Linked DNA regions of Homo sapiens: all the other regions are linked to region 1. The links are contacts of gene promoters, found by promoter capture Hi-C in blood cells and fetal thymus (Javierre and others, 2016). All regions are on one chromosome and are shown on one strand. The core of a region is centred on a gene start or on the middle of the fragment in contact, and the rest is flanking DNA. Distances in the headings are between cores, read along the strand shown. Region 1 holds the start of IL6R (interleukin 6 receptor). Region 2 has its middle 16 kb from the start of KCNN3. Region 3 overlaps KCNN3 (potassium calcium-activated channel subfamily N member 3). Region 4 overlaps KCNN3 (potassium calcium-activated channel subfamily N member 3).

Region 1 (2,973 bases), core at 218-2,717:
CCTGGCCCTGTCCACTTGGGAGTTCCATTAGGCCATGCCTGTTCCAGCTGTCCCAGGATCTTTGATCTGGGTTAGGATTGGCCTGAAACCAAAGGTAGAAAAACACATTCTAATGAGCAGTTGCTGGTCTAGAAGCTTCTCAGCCTAAACTTTATTTCAGCATTTTTCTTTCCCTCCAGATTCAGCTATGAGGCCATCCTATCAGCTTTAGGCTCTGTGGGGGTCCTTGAGAGAGTTCCCCTCCAAGGGACGGACAGATGGTCCCCTTCAAGGTCCTTGTGGTTGCTCAAAAGCCAGGTGCTTGTTTCTTTCTTTTTTTCTCTCCTTCCTTTCCTTCCTTCCCCTCTATCCCTCCTTCCCTCCCTCCCTCCCTCCTCCCTTCCTTTTCTTTCTTTCTTTTCTTTTTTTTTTTTTCTTTCCAGACAGGGTCTCACTGTCATCCAGGCTGGAGTAGCAGCCCCCAATCACGGCTCACTGTACCCTGGATCTCCCGGACTCAAGCAATTTTCCCACCTCAGCTTCCCTAGTAGCTGGGACTATAGGTGTGTACCACCACACCCAGCTAATTTTTAAATTTTTTTATAGAAATGGGGGTCTCACTTTGTTACACAGGCTGGTCTAGAATTCCTGGACTGAAGCAATCCACCCACCCGGCTCTCCCAAAGTGTTGGGGTTACAGGCGTGAGCCACTGCCCCTGGTGTTAGTGTCTGTCTGTCAAGTCAGGAGGGCAGCCATGAACGTTCTGATGTCTACTGAGCACGTGTGGCCCAGACCGTGTGTCAGGTGTTTAGGTGCCATCCACAGAACCTTCCTAATAACCCTGGGCAGCATAGGCTTTCTTATCTCTGACAGATGAGGAAATGGAGACTCAGATTCTGAACCGAAGTCACAGACACAGTAGATGGTAGGTCTAAATGGGGACCCAGGTCTATCTGACTGCAAAGTCCAAACCGTTTCCTTGCCTCTGCTGCAGCCTGCGAGGAGCAGCTGGGCAGAAAGACTGTGCCTTTACGGTGGTGAGTCTTCCGATGCCCAAGCCTCACCCCAGACCGATGAAATCAGAATCTCTGGAGACCCGACCCAGACATTGGTGGGTTTTAGGGCTCCTGGCTGATTCCAGTGGGCAACCGGGCTACCAAGCACTGTTTTACCCTAAGGGTAAGAGGAACATCGCCTCCTCGAGGGCTCTCCAGGTGTGCCTTTCACAGCGTAATCCCGTTCACGAAACCAAAAATCAAAACTAGGCCACTGCCCACTGGTGGCTGATACGCCCTTTTCTCATCAACAGAACCGGGAGGAAGGGCTCTGGTGGGGCTGGCGGTCCCCTGTTCTCCCCGCTCAGGTGCGGCGCTGTGGCAGGAAGCCACCCCCTCGGTCGGCCGGTGCGCGGGGCTGTTGCGCCATCCGCTCCGGCTTTCGTAACCGCACCCTGGGACGGCCCAGAGACGCTCCAGCGCGAGTTCCTCAAATGTTTTCCTGCGTTGCCAGGACCGTCCGCCGCTCTGAGTCATGTGCGAGTGGGAAGTCGCACTGACACTGAGCCGGGCCAGAGGGAGAGGAGCCGAGCGCGGCGCGGGGCCGAGGGACTCGCAGTGTGTGTAGAGAGCCGGGCTCCTGCGGATGGGGGCTGCCCCCGGGGCCTGAGCCCGCCTGCCCGCCCACCGCCCCGCCCCGCCCCTGCCACCCCTGCCGCCCGGTTCCCATTAGCCTGTCCGCCTCTGCGGGACCATGGAGTGGTAGCCGAGGAGGAAGCATGCTGGCCGTCGGCTGCGCGCTGCTGGCTGCCCTGCTGGCCGCGCCGGGAGCGGCGCTGGCCCCAAGGCGCTGCCCTGCGCAGGGTAAGGGCTTCGGGCGCACCTGGAGGGCTGGGGCAGCTAGCGGCTGGGGGAAACCGCCTTGGTCACCGCAGTCTGTGGGAGGCTGGAGGGAGGAAAGGAGGTGCGACGGATCCCCTTTTCTGTGGCTGCCTTGAGGCCCCGCGGGTACCTAGCTGTGTGGTCGCGGGTAGTGGCTCTTGCGCCCCCTGCTGCGCTTGCTCCCTTGGTCCGGAGCGCTCCCCGGAATGCCCGGTGAAGCTGTGCGGGAACCCTGCGGTCTGTGTACAGGACTGTGTCCTTGCAAACCTGACTCTCGAGCTTCCTTCCCAGTGCCCCCAGGAGCCTTTACACAACCGCGTCCCAGGTTACTCTAAGGGGAGACTGCCCGAGAGGGCGCGCCCCAGCGGGGTGATGTACCCGCCTGGGGAGTCCTTTGTACCAGCGCCCCTCTTCTCCCTCTGCATTGGGGGTCCACCTCGCCTGGTCCTCCCCCCACCCCCGCGGGTGCATGTGTGGATGACAGTGCCCTGACTATGAAGGGACTGACATCACGGGCGCTGAGTCACGGATCTTCCCGCTGCACGGAGTCACTTTGGCAGCCACCAACTCTGGGAAGCCAAGTGCCCCAGTCCTGGGAATTGAGTCGGGAGGCTGGCAAGGGAGTGAGACCTCCTGGGGCTGGCACGTGCTGGACTCCCCTCTAGAAAAGAGAAGGACCCGTGAGGGAGAGGGCAGAGGCACTTACTGCTCCCGTTGACTGTAATCTGCCCCTGGCAAACCAGGCTTTTCTTGGGCTCTGGCCGCATGCCCAGCTGCGTGTCTAGTCTCTCTTCTGGAAGAGTTGGGCAACTGGCTCTCCAGAGGTTTATTTTAGGGTCCCAGTGCTTCTTTGAGGACACAGCAGAAAACTAAGGGGCAGCTGACAGGCTTCTGGAACAGCTGACAGGCTGGGGAGGCTGAAGGCTAAGACTTTCAACCACTAGATCACACTGAATTCCAGTCCTAGGTGAACACTGATCTCTCCCTTTGAGGAGGTGACTTTCTGCAACTAGAGGCTGAGCTGGAGTGTCTGAGGCTCTCTTTGCTTTTTGGATGGTTGTGGTCCTTATGATTGGAAGAAAAAAAGAAGGGATTCCATTTTCAATACACATTTAT
Region 2 (2,973 bases), core at 287-2,786, 480 kb after region 1:
TGTGAGGATAGAGATCTAGGGGTCACACATGTTTTTCTAGCCCAGCAGGATCCAGATGTTTCCAGTTCCTGAACTTGGGTCAAGATCCAGCGTTGAGAGGGTCATTATTCAAAGAGGCCTTGAACACACATGATGTTTAGTTAAACATGGGGTAAGAAAACAGCCAGGACACAAATGAGTTATTCTAATTTTGTGAGTTCAGACCTTTGAACTCAACTCCTCATTCTGGTCTCCTGGCTGGAATGAGGACAACAGTCTATAAACAATCCACATATTCTATCTTCCCTCATAGCACATGTAGGCATCTCTAAAAATAATTCCCAAAGTAGCTTAGGCTCCATTTCCCTCTATTTGTTGCCTAGAGAACTCTTATTCACCCCTCAAGGCCTTGTTCAAATGATCCTGCTTTAGGAGGCCTTCGCTGATCCCCAACATCCTCAAACAGGGTTAGCCATGCTGTATTCCCCTAATACTCTGTCGGGACCTCTGCTGAGGCCCTTCTCACATCACATTGTGATTATGTGTTTATGTTCTCCAGCATCTGGGACAATGCCAGGAACAAAGGAGGAACTCCATAAACACTCGTTGAATAAACGGTTGAGTAAATAAATAAGTCTGCCTCCCTGACAGGATTGTAAGCTGTTCAACTTGTATGGAATTAAGTTGAATCCCAGCACTTCAGAACAAAGGCGCACTTAGTGTCTACCTAGTTCAGCTCTCAATGATCAGTGTGTGGTTCATTACAAATACAAACAACTGAATCTAGCGCTCACCAAGCTCTTCTGACATCCCTGGAAATGCTTCTTTTTTTTTTTTTTTTTTTTTGAGACGGACTCTTGCTCTGTCGCCCAGGCTGGAGCACAATGGCACGATCTCGGCTCACTGCAACCTCTGCCTCCTGGGTTCAAGCGATTCTCCCACCTCAGCCTCCCAAGTAGCTGGGATTACAGGCATGCACCACCACGCCCAGCTAACATCCCTGGAAATACTTTTCTGACCTATGCCAATGTGTAAACATAGGAGAGTCTTAATGTATTTACTTTTCTGAATTTTCACGGTAAATGCTTGCTGATTATTAAAAGTTTGGGAAAAAATAGAAAACAATAAAGAAGCAGAAAGGTCACGTAAAATTCCTCTACCAAAGTAGGTATTGTTAAGATGTGGCATATTTCAGTCTTTTGCTATGCATTGTGTTTTCCTTATACAATTGAGATGACAATGTGTGTATATAGGTTTTAGAGCAGTTGTGCTGTAATTAGTGTGTACCTGATATTTTATGTTCTTGTTTCATTAAAGACAGTCTCATAGTGACAGTAAATCCCATCTCATTAACATATCAACATAACCCCACGTTTTTATTAGATAATGTCATGCTCCTCCCCCATCATATGTCTAGAATTTGCTTAGCCATTCACTCTTCTTAGGCAGTTGGGTGGTTTTCAGTTTTAGTTTCTGGCCATTTTAAGGATCATTGCTCTGAACTTCCAGGAAGTAGGTACATGTGGTTAGAGATAAAACTCCCAATAACATCATCATCCACAGACTCTCAAGTACTGCAGCTCAACCAGCTGAGATGGAAGTGAGGATAATGTGCTCCAGATCTTGCTAGCTGACTCCAGAGGTGGCTCTAGTGACAGTGGCACCCCTGTATCTGGATGTGCATAAAGCATGTGAGCTCAAGGAGGCTGGGACAGGCCTGTCTTGTTGCCCTTGGATTCCCCAAGCCCAGCACAGTGCCTGGCACATGACGAGTGAATGAACAAATGGTGCATGCTTGGACAGACGAATGCACTGTTATGCTCAGACACCTCAGCAGTGTGACTGGAGCCTCAGCCTTCTGTATGTTGTACTGTCTGGAACCCCAGGCCTCTGGGGAATTCTGGGAATGTTCCATGTTAGTGATAGGAAAGTGCTCTGAGCCTCTGGGCTAAAAGCACCGCCCTGCAGCCAGAGCATGCTCCCAGCTGAGCAGTAAATGTGAATGAACGGTGATGAGATGCTAAGGACAATGCTCCCCCAACTCCCAGTGCCCCCCTCCCACATGCCCACACATACCCACTTGCTGCCCACATGTGCCTCTCTCTGCTATCATCTGGGGTCACCTTCAGAGCGTCTATTTGGGCAGATAACCCACCAAGTTAGAAACAACATAATAGACACTTCACTTTGTCATCTGAGGAGCAGCACTACATGCTGGCCAACAAGACAGACCAGCAAGCCCAAGAGTGGCTTTCCAGTCATTTATTCCACAAACACTTCTTGGGCTTCTGCTGTGCCCAACCAGAGAATTAGAGATGAATAATATGTGTGTCCATCCTTGAGGAGTTCACCCTTATGTGCCAAATAGATTCGGCTGTGCCTCCAAAATCATCTCCTGGTCCAGCGTCTCCCCAGCTCAGGCAGATCCCCAGCATCCCCCAGAAGATGGGAGCCGTCCTTGGCACCCAATCCTGTGGACCCAGCCTTGAAGGTAGCTCTCAGCATCGCTTTCCTTCTCTCTCCACCTCCCTGTTCAGACTTAACCCAACACCTTCCTAACTGGTCCCACTCCCACCCCTCCAGCCCTCAAATCCATCTTCCACAGGGCAACAGAAAAGTCTTTTGAAAATGCAAATCTGGCCAGGCGCAGTGGTTCACGCCTCCAATCCCAGCACTTTGGGAGGCCAAGGTGGGCGGATCATTTGAGGTCAGGAGGTAGAGACCAGCCTGATCAACATGGTAAAACCTCGTCTCTACTGAAAATACAAAAATTAGCCAGGCGTGGTGACATGCACCTTTAATCCCAGCTACTGGGGTGGTTGAGGCAGGAGAATGGCTTGAACCCAGGAGGTGGAGATTGCAGTAAGCCGAGATTATACCACTGCACTCCAGCCTGGGCGACAGAGTTAGACTCTGTCAAAAAAAAAAAAAAAAAGCAAATCTGATCACATTGGTTCTCTGCTTAAAACCCCATAATGGCTTCCCAGAGCTCTC
Region 3 (2,973 bases), core at 268-2,767, 380 kb after region 1:
TAATAAGGGGCAGACCTAGGCTCTACAGCCAGGGCAGGCAGCTCTCTTGACTACTGTGTGTGCTGCCCCCAGGCTGTGCTAGGAAGGCTTGTTGGGCTGAGCCCCAGTGTTTGCCTATCCCAGGCCAGGCCAATAGGTGTTTCTGGTTCTTTGTGTGCCTTGGCAGATCCAGGAGTCAAAGGTTTCTGTGCATCTGCTAAGTCTGGGGTAAGAGGTATCGTTTTCTCAACAGGAAGTTTCTGATAAGTTTCTTTCCTTTTGACACATGAAAGGATCCTGCTGAATGTTTGGGGGTAGGGGAGGAACAGCATCATCACTGGGGCTGCTGGGCCCTGATTGGTTCTAAGTCACCTGTTTACCACTAAGGGAGAAATTCTTTAACCCTGGCTTAGGGGATATTTTTAGCAACTAAAAATAAATAGGTTTTTGGATCTTTGAACAGCCTAGGGAGCTGAAGAACTGAGGTCAGGACCAGGTGGTGGTGGTGGGCAGGGAGTGTTTGTTTTTTCCCCAACTGACTAAAAGGCCCTTCACCTCCTTCCCAAGGGCCAGCTGCACTGTCACCCCTTCAGGGGGAGCTTTTCCTGATCTCCCAGTGGCGGGGGCAGCACTTCAAACAGCAACAAGCCATTTGGTGAGTCCAACTTGTTGGCTGGGGCCTAAGCACTTTTCTTTTTCTTTTTTTTTTTTTTTTTTTTTTTTTTTGAGACAAGAGTCTCACTCTGTCTTCCAGGCTAGAGTACAGTGGCACGATTATGGCTCACTACAACCTCTGCCTCCTGGGTTCAAGCAATTATCCTGCCTCAGCCTCCCGAGTAGCTGGGATTAGTACCCAGCTACCACGAGTAGCTGTGCACCACCACACCCGGCTAATTTTTGTATTTTTAGTAGAGGTGGGGTTTTGCGATGTTGGCCAGGCTGGTCTCAAACTCCTAGCCTCATATGATCAGCCATCCTCGGCCTTCCAAAGTGCTGGGATTACAGGCATGAGCCACCACACCTGGCCTCCTAAGCACTTTTCTTTACATCAACTCTTTGAGTCTCACAATAGCCCCATAAGAAAAGTGAACATCCCCCAGACCTCATAGCAACTAAGTGGTGGAGACAGGATTTAAACCAAGAGGCCACACTCTCATCTATTAAGTTTCCATTCTGGCCGAAACCTCCTTCTTGATCGTCCATCTGAGCCGCATTCCTGTCCACCTGCTTGTCAGCACCCTCACTAAAGCAGGGGTCCTTGAGGACAGACATCTCCTTGGTCACTGTCCTCCACAGTGCCAGGCACAGCGCCCAGGGCCACCCAAATGAATACATAAAGGGTTTAAGGTGTCAAAACTATATCAATGTGACTGTAAAGAAATATTTTAATTGTTCACCATTTTTATAATCCTCCTAAGGCAAAAGAGTCTTTTGTAACATATGCACAAGATAGAAAAAGAAATCAAAGAATATTTTAAAAGAACTGCTTATTATAATTTTTTAAAAAACCCTGGAAACAACCTGAATACACATCAATAGGGAAACAGCTGAATATATTATGGTACTCATACTGGGGAACATTATGTAGCTGTTTTTAAAAATGAAGTGGATCTATATGTATTGACTTAGAAAATGTTCATGATATATTGCTAAGTAAAAAGAGAAACTTACAGCATAATGGGTATAGTGTGATTCCTCTTTTTTAAAAAAGCAAACACCAACACATAAAAACAAAAATGCCCATATATGTGTATGCATGTTGGTACATTTTTGTATAAGCACACACAAAAGGTGCATTAATCACCTCTGGCTAAACACTAAATTGTTAACACTGGTACTACTGGGGACGCAGGGAGATGGGAATCAGGGAACCTATTGATTTTTTTCCTTTTGATAATGAGAACACACCTCTGTGTTAAAAGAAGCCTATATTGCTTTTGTAATTTAAAAAAACCCAATAAAGTATTTTTTAAAAGAGCTGTCATGGAGAAAGCCACTTGTGGCGCCTAATGGTGATGTTTTAAGCATGGCCATTCTTGGAGGAAAAATAATTGCCCAGGTCCTTTCCTGCCCTGTAATTTTCTGTGTAGAGCTTCAAATCCCCTGGGAGCCCCCAGGATTTTATGAATACAGCCCTGCTAGAAGTGTTCATAGCTGAGCTCCTCTCACAAGTCTCCCCCTCCAAGGCCAGCCTCATTACCAGATCCACAGCCCCTCTAACTAAGCCACCTTGTGAAAAATACTTCCAGGGCATGAAGATTAAACAAGGCACTTATTTCAAGGCCACCTCTCCATGTGAATTCCTATCGTAGGCACTGAAAGCCGCGTTAGTCAGTGGCCCACTCCGCTCCCCCACTGAGGGCAGAGGCCTAGGCTCCCTGTGGGAAGTGGTGGCCCTCCCCACGGTTGAGAAAGGAAACCTGCTCCACCATTCCCTCCATTTGGGAGGGAGGGACCAGGGCCAGGGCCAGGGCCAGGGCCAGGGCATGCGGCAGCCACCATCACCACAGCGACTGCTGCTGGTGAGAGGTCACTGCGGATCTGGCCTCAGCGTGCCAGGTACAATGCCAAGACCCGTGGGGTACAGCGGAGATCAGGATGCAAGTTCCTGATGAACCAGGAGCTTAGAACTGCGTGTCTGCTAGAGATGCGCAGAAGCAAACAAAGATATGGCTATGGAGAGGGCCAGTTTGGTGACTGGGGGCACTATTTGCAATTCGGGGTCTGTGCTGCTGTGTGTTCAATGCCCACAGGTACTGCCCTGGATCCAGACACCTGGAGCTCTGGCTCTGGGTCCCCCACACTAGAGGGCCCTGCTTGACCCCTCCTTAAGTCACACCACACCCCGTGGAGTCAGAAGCCCACAGGGCCAAGAGGCCTTGTCTGCCTCCACCTTCTAAACCCCCGTTTGGATATCCAGACGCCCAGAGTCCCCTGTCCAAAAAGGCCCCAGGCCTGCTTCCAGGGCCCACGCTGCCACTTTCTCTGTCCTCC
Region 4 (2,973 bases), core at 298-2,797, 360 kb after region 1:
AATCCACTCAAGAGGACAGTAAGGTCATTTATAAAGCATGGCTGTGACAGCAAGGCTCACCCCACTTCATCAATGTTATGGGAGGCCTTGTTGCTCCTCCCAAGGAGATAAACATACAAAGGTGAGCTGGCAGGCCACTGCACTGCTCAAGGCACGCTAGGAAGGCTGGCTCTCCAACCTGCTGCCGCAGTGAGGACCCGGGGCCTCAGATGGTCTCTCCACCAGTAAAGCTGCTTGGCACTTGACAGTGTAAAATCAGGAGGTTCCTCCCTGAGGGAGGTGGGCAGGCAGCCAGGAGAATCCCAGAGAATGCAGAGTGCCACAACTGTCAGGCCTCGGAACCCATGATGTAATGCCTCTCTGGGGGCCAAGGAAAACAAGCCCACTGTTGTCACTGCCCTCCCAGCAACCAGGCGCTGCCCTCCCCATGGCACGGCTGTTCTGCGTAATTATGATCCCACTTTCTCTCCTTGGGAGGAGGAAATATGAAAAACCTTTGTTGTCACATAAAAACCAACCCAAGATATGAGAACTGTCTTTTAAAATACATCTTGCTGTAGAGAGATTTCCATAGCAACTTCAGAAGTGTGTGTATACAACTAGAGATAAGTCCAGGCTGATGAAAGCTACCTGGAATGTGAACAGGCTCTGGGCATCAGCAGCTGTGGATTTTTCTAGAACCTGTCATGCTGCTGTGTGACCCTGGGCAAGTCACTTACCCTCTCTGATGCCTAAGGTGATAGAATCATCATTAGATCAGGCTGAGAGAGATCAAGGCATCCTGTCCACACTACCCTGGTCTGACGCTTCAGTTCCCCAAAGCTTCCCCTGCTTCCAGCTTCTGTCCAGTCTCTGGCTGAATAAGTCCTGGCTGAAGGCCTCTGCCAATCTTACTTATTATTTGACATTGGGAAACAGAATGATCATTTAAGCTTGATTCTAAAAATAGTGCTTAGTCTTGGTAAGAGAAGTGCTTTGCCTGTTTAGGAAACAATATATTAACGGGGCAGATTCCTGGGAAACAGTCTGTGAGATGCTGAGATTTGGGGGTGGGAGTTTTACTGGGGCTGCTCTCAGGATCAATACCTCTGGGGTATAGAGGAAGTTCCCGGATGCAGTGGTAACAGAGGCCTTAGGCGATCCCTCAGGGACCCTGGAGCCTGGCTGAGTGTCCTACTAGAAGCAAACGGGGTTAGGCCTTTGAACTCCCACACTGACAAATCCCCTCGGGAGCTTGCTGCCCCCAGGCAAGGGGTTTGACCTGAAGAGAGGGACTCAGTCACAACCCCAGCTAAGGGAAGGAGAGCCCGGGTCCTGGAGGGGGCATCTGTCCCCTTCATGTTGACATGAAGCAACATGTCATCCACTACATGGATGTGTTTGAATTGGACATGAAGGCAGCCCAGGAGGCTAGTATGATAACATGGTCAAGACCATAGGCAGCAGAGGCAGAGAAAACAGCAAGACTGGGATTCACATGTTAGTCTCAGTGGCCTTAAGACTCTGAGATTGGGAAAGTTGCCAGTAGAGTAGAGGCCAAGATTTCCTCGTATGTGCAGGATTCAGCCTGGGTTGGTGACACACACATGGAAGTTCAGAGTCAGAAACCAGTTCAGATTTTGGCTCCACGCTTATTATTAATAGCTCTGTGACCTCGGGCCAGTTACTTTCTATCAGTTTCCTCAACTCTCCCATGAGCCTTCATGTCCAATTCAAACACATCCATGTAGTGGATGACATGTTGCTTCACCCAAATGCCCCTCCAGGACCCGGGCTCTCCTTCCCTCAGGCAAGGTACCTCTCTCATAGATCTATTGTGAGGGCAAGCTGGGATGACATATGGATTTTACACAGAACTAGCACAGGGGTGCAACAATAACATCCACCATGCTTTAATACACCTCATGTTATACCTAAGTCTTTGGTCAAATGGCCTTTTCGCAAGAGAAGGGAACTTTCAGAGAATTTCCGATTTGCTCATTGTTCCTCTGTGCCTTGGTCTTAGCGGGGGCTTGTGACCCATGTCTGCAGAGAGAGAGAGAGAGACCCAGTGGCCCACCAGGGACCAAACTAACCCAGCCTCAGCTTGGAAGCTATGGAAGGCCATGCAATATCAAATAAGGTGCATCATCTAAGTACTTTGCAAACTACATTCTTTAAAACAAGCTTATTTTCCAGTGAAAAATAGTCACCCCTTCTTGTGATAGGTTCAATAAACTACGAAACTCACTTGCAGGTACTTTGTTGCATGTTCAGCCATCTGAAATACATGCCAGAGAGCATCTGAGGAAGTGAAAGACTTCAAATAGCTTAAAGGGCTACGCAAATTCAATTACTATGTTAATAGACAACATGGCTTCCATCATTTAGAAAGGAAAACAGGAAGAGTATAGGCCCATGTATGGTACAAGTTGGGCTGTTCTAATTAAAAGAAGGCAGCACAAAATTCCCAAGAGTTATCAAGGGATCTGCACTATTATTATTAACTTTCACCATCATTGGATTGCAGTACATAGTGCATATATACACCTTGTTTGACTCTAACAATAAATCCTGTGTCCAGCTTTCAGATAAGAAAATTGAGGTCCAGAGAGGTGAAGCGACCAGCACAATGTTGCTCAGCTAACAGTACCATGAAGAGTTTGGGGTCGGAACCCAAGCACATGCTTTCTCCATTGGGGGAAGAGTGTCTGCTTACCAGAGAAGGCTCATGAAGCCCTGTGCAGTGTGGTCCCACTCAGAGCAGATGTTGCAATGTCAGCTGCTGAGTAATGGCGAGGTTCTGAATAGGTGAGCATGGTGTGTCCCTGGGGCTCTGTGTGTGAGAAAGGTCTTCCAACACTGCACTGGCTCTCAGAACCTGAACCTGCATCCTGGAGCCTGAACCCTTGTTCTGCGGCAGCAGAATGCCCTCTCAGTTTGACCGTGTGTCTGTTGGCCAAAACGCTGAAAGAAATGTCTGCAAACAGAATG

The links. Contacts are between HindIII fragments. The CHiCAGO score rates a contact against its expected background, and 5 or more counts as called.
Region 2: a fragment that was not itself captured here is called in contact with the fragment with the promoter of IL6R in region 1 in 1 of 17 cell types (naive CD4 T cells); the score reaches 5.0 in naive CD4 T cells.
Region 3: a fragment that was not itself captured here is called in contact with the fragment with the promoter of IL6R in region 1 in 1 of 17 cell types (non-activated CD4 T cells); the score reaches 5.1 in non-activated CD4 T cells.
Region 4: a contact is called between a fragment that was not itself captured here and the fragment with the promoter of IL6R in region 1, in 1 of 17 cell types (naive CD4 T cells). The highest score is 6.3, in naive CD4 T cells.

Annotation. Positions count from the first base shown.
Region 1 is chr1:154,403,876-154,406,848 of GRCh38, forward strand. IL6R (interleukin 6 receptor) reads left to right here and starts at 1,468. Exons shown (of 10, transcript NM_000565.4): 1 at 1,468-1,839. The coding sequence starts at 1,755. It overlaps IL6R-AS1 (IL6R antisense RNA 1), which reads right to left and starts at 2,689. Exons shown (of 2, transcript NR_147855.1): 1 at 2,564-2,689; 2 at 1-82. RefSeq lists silencers at 1,273-1,402, 1,603-1,752 and an enhancer at 1,992-2,598. The HindIII fragment of the contact is 4,036 bases long and covers 134-2,973 here.
Region 2 is chr1:154,884,942-154,887,914 of GRCh38, forward strand. No RefSeq gene overlaps it. Among named protein-coding and RNA genes, the nearest start is that of KCNN3, 16 kb to the left of the region's middle. The HindIII fragment of the contact is 9,275 bases long and covers 1-2,973 here.
Region 3 is chr1:154,784,895-154,787,867 of GRCh38, forward strand. The region is part of intron 2 of KCNN3 (potassium calcium-activated channel subfamily N member 3); the gene reads right to left. Among named protein-coding and RNA genes, the nearest start is that of KCNN3, 84 kb to the right of the region's middle. The HindIII fragment of the contact is 3,964 bases long and covers 1-2,973 here.
Region 4 is chr1:154,767,400-154,770,372 of GRCh38, forward strand. The region is part of intron 3 of KCNN3 (potassium calcium-activated channel subfamily N member 3); the gene reads right to left. Among named protein-coding and RNA genes, the nearest start is that of KCNN3, 100 kb to the right of the region's middle. The HindIII fragment of the contact is 1,234 bases long and covers 931-2,164 here.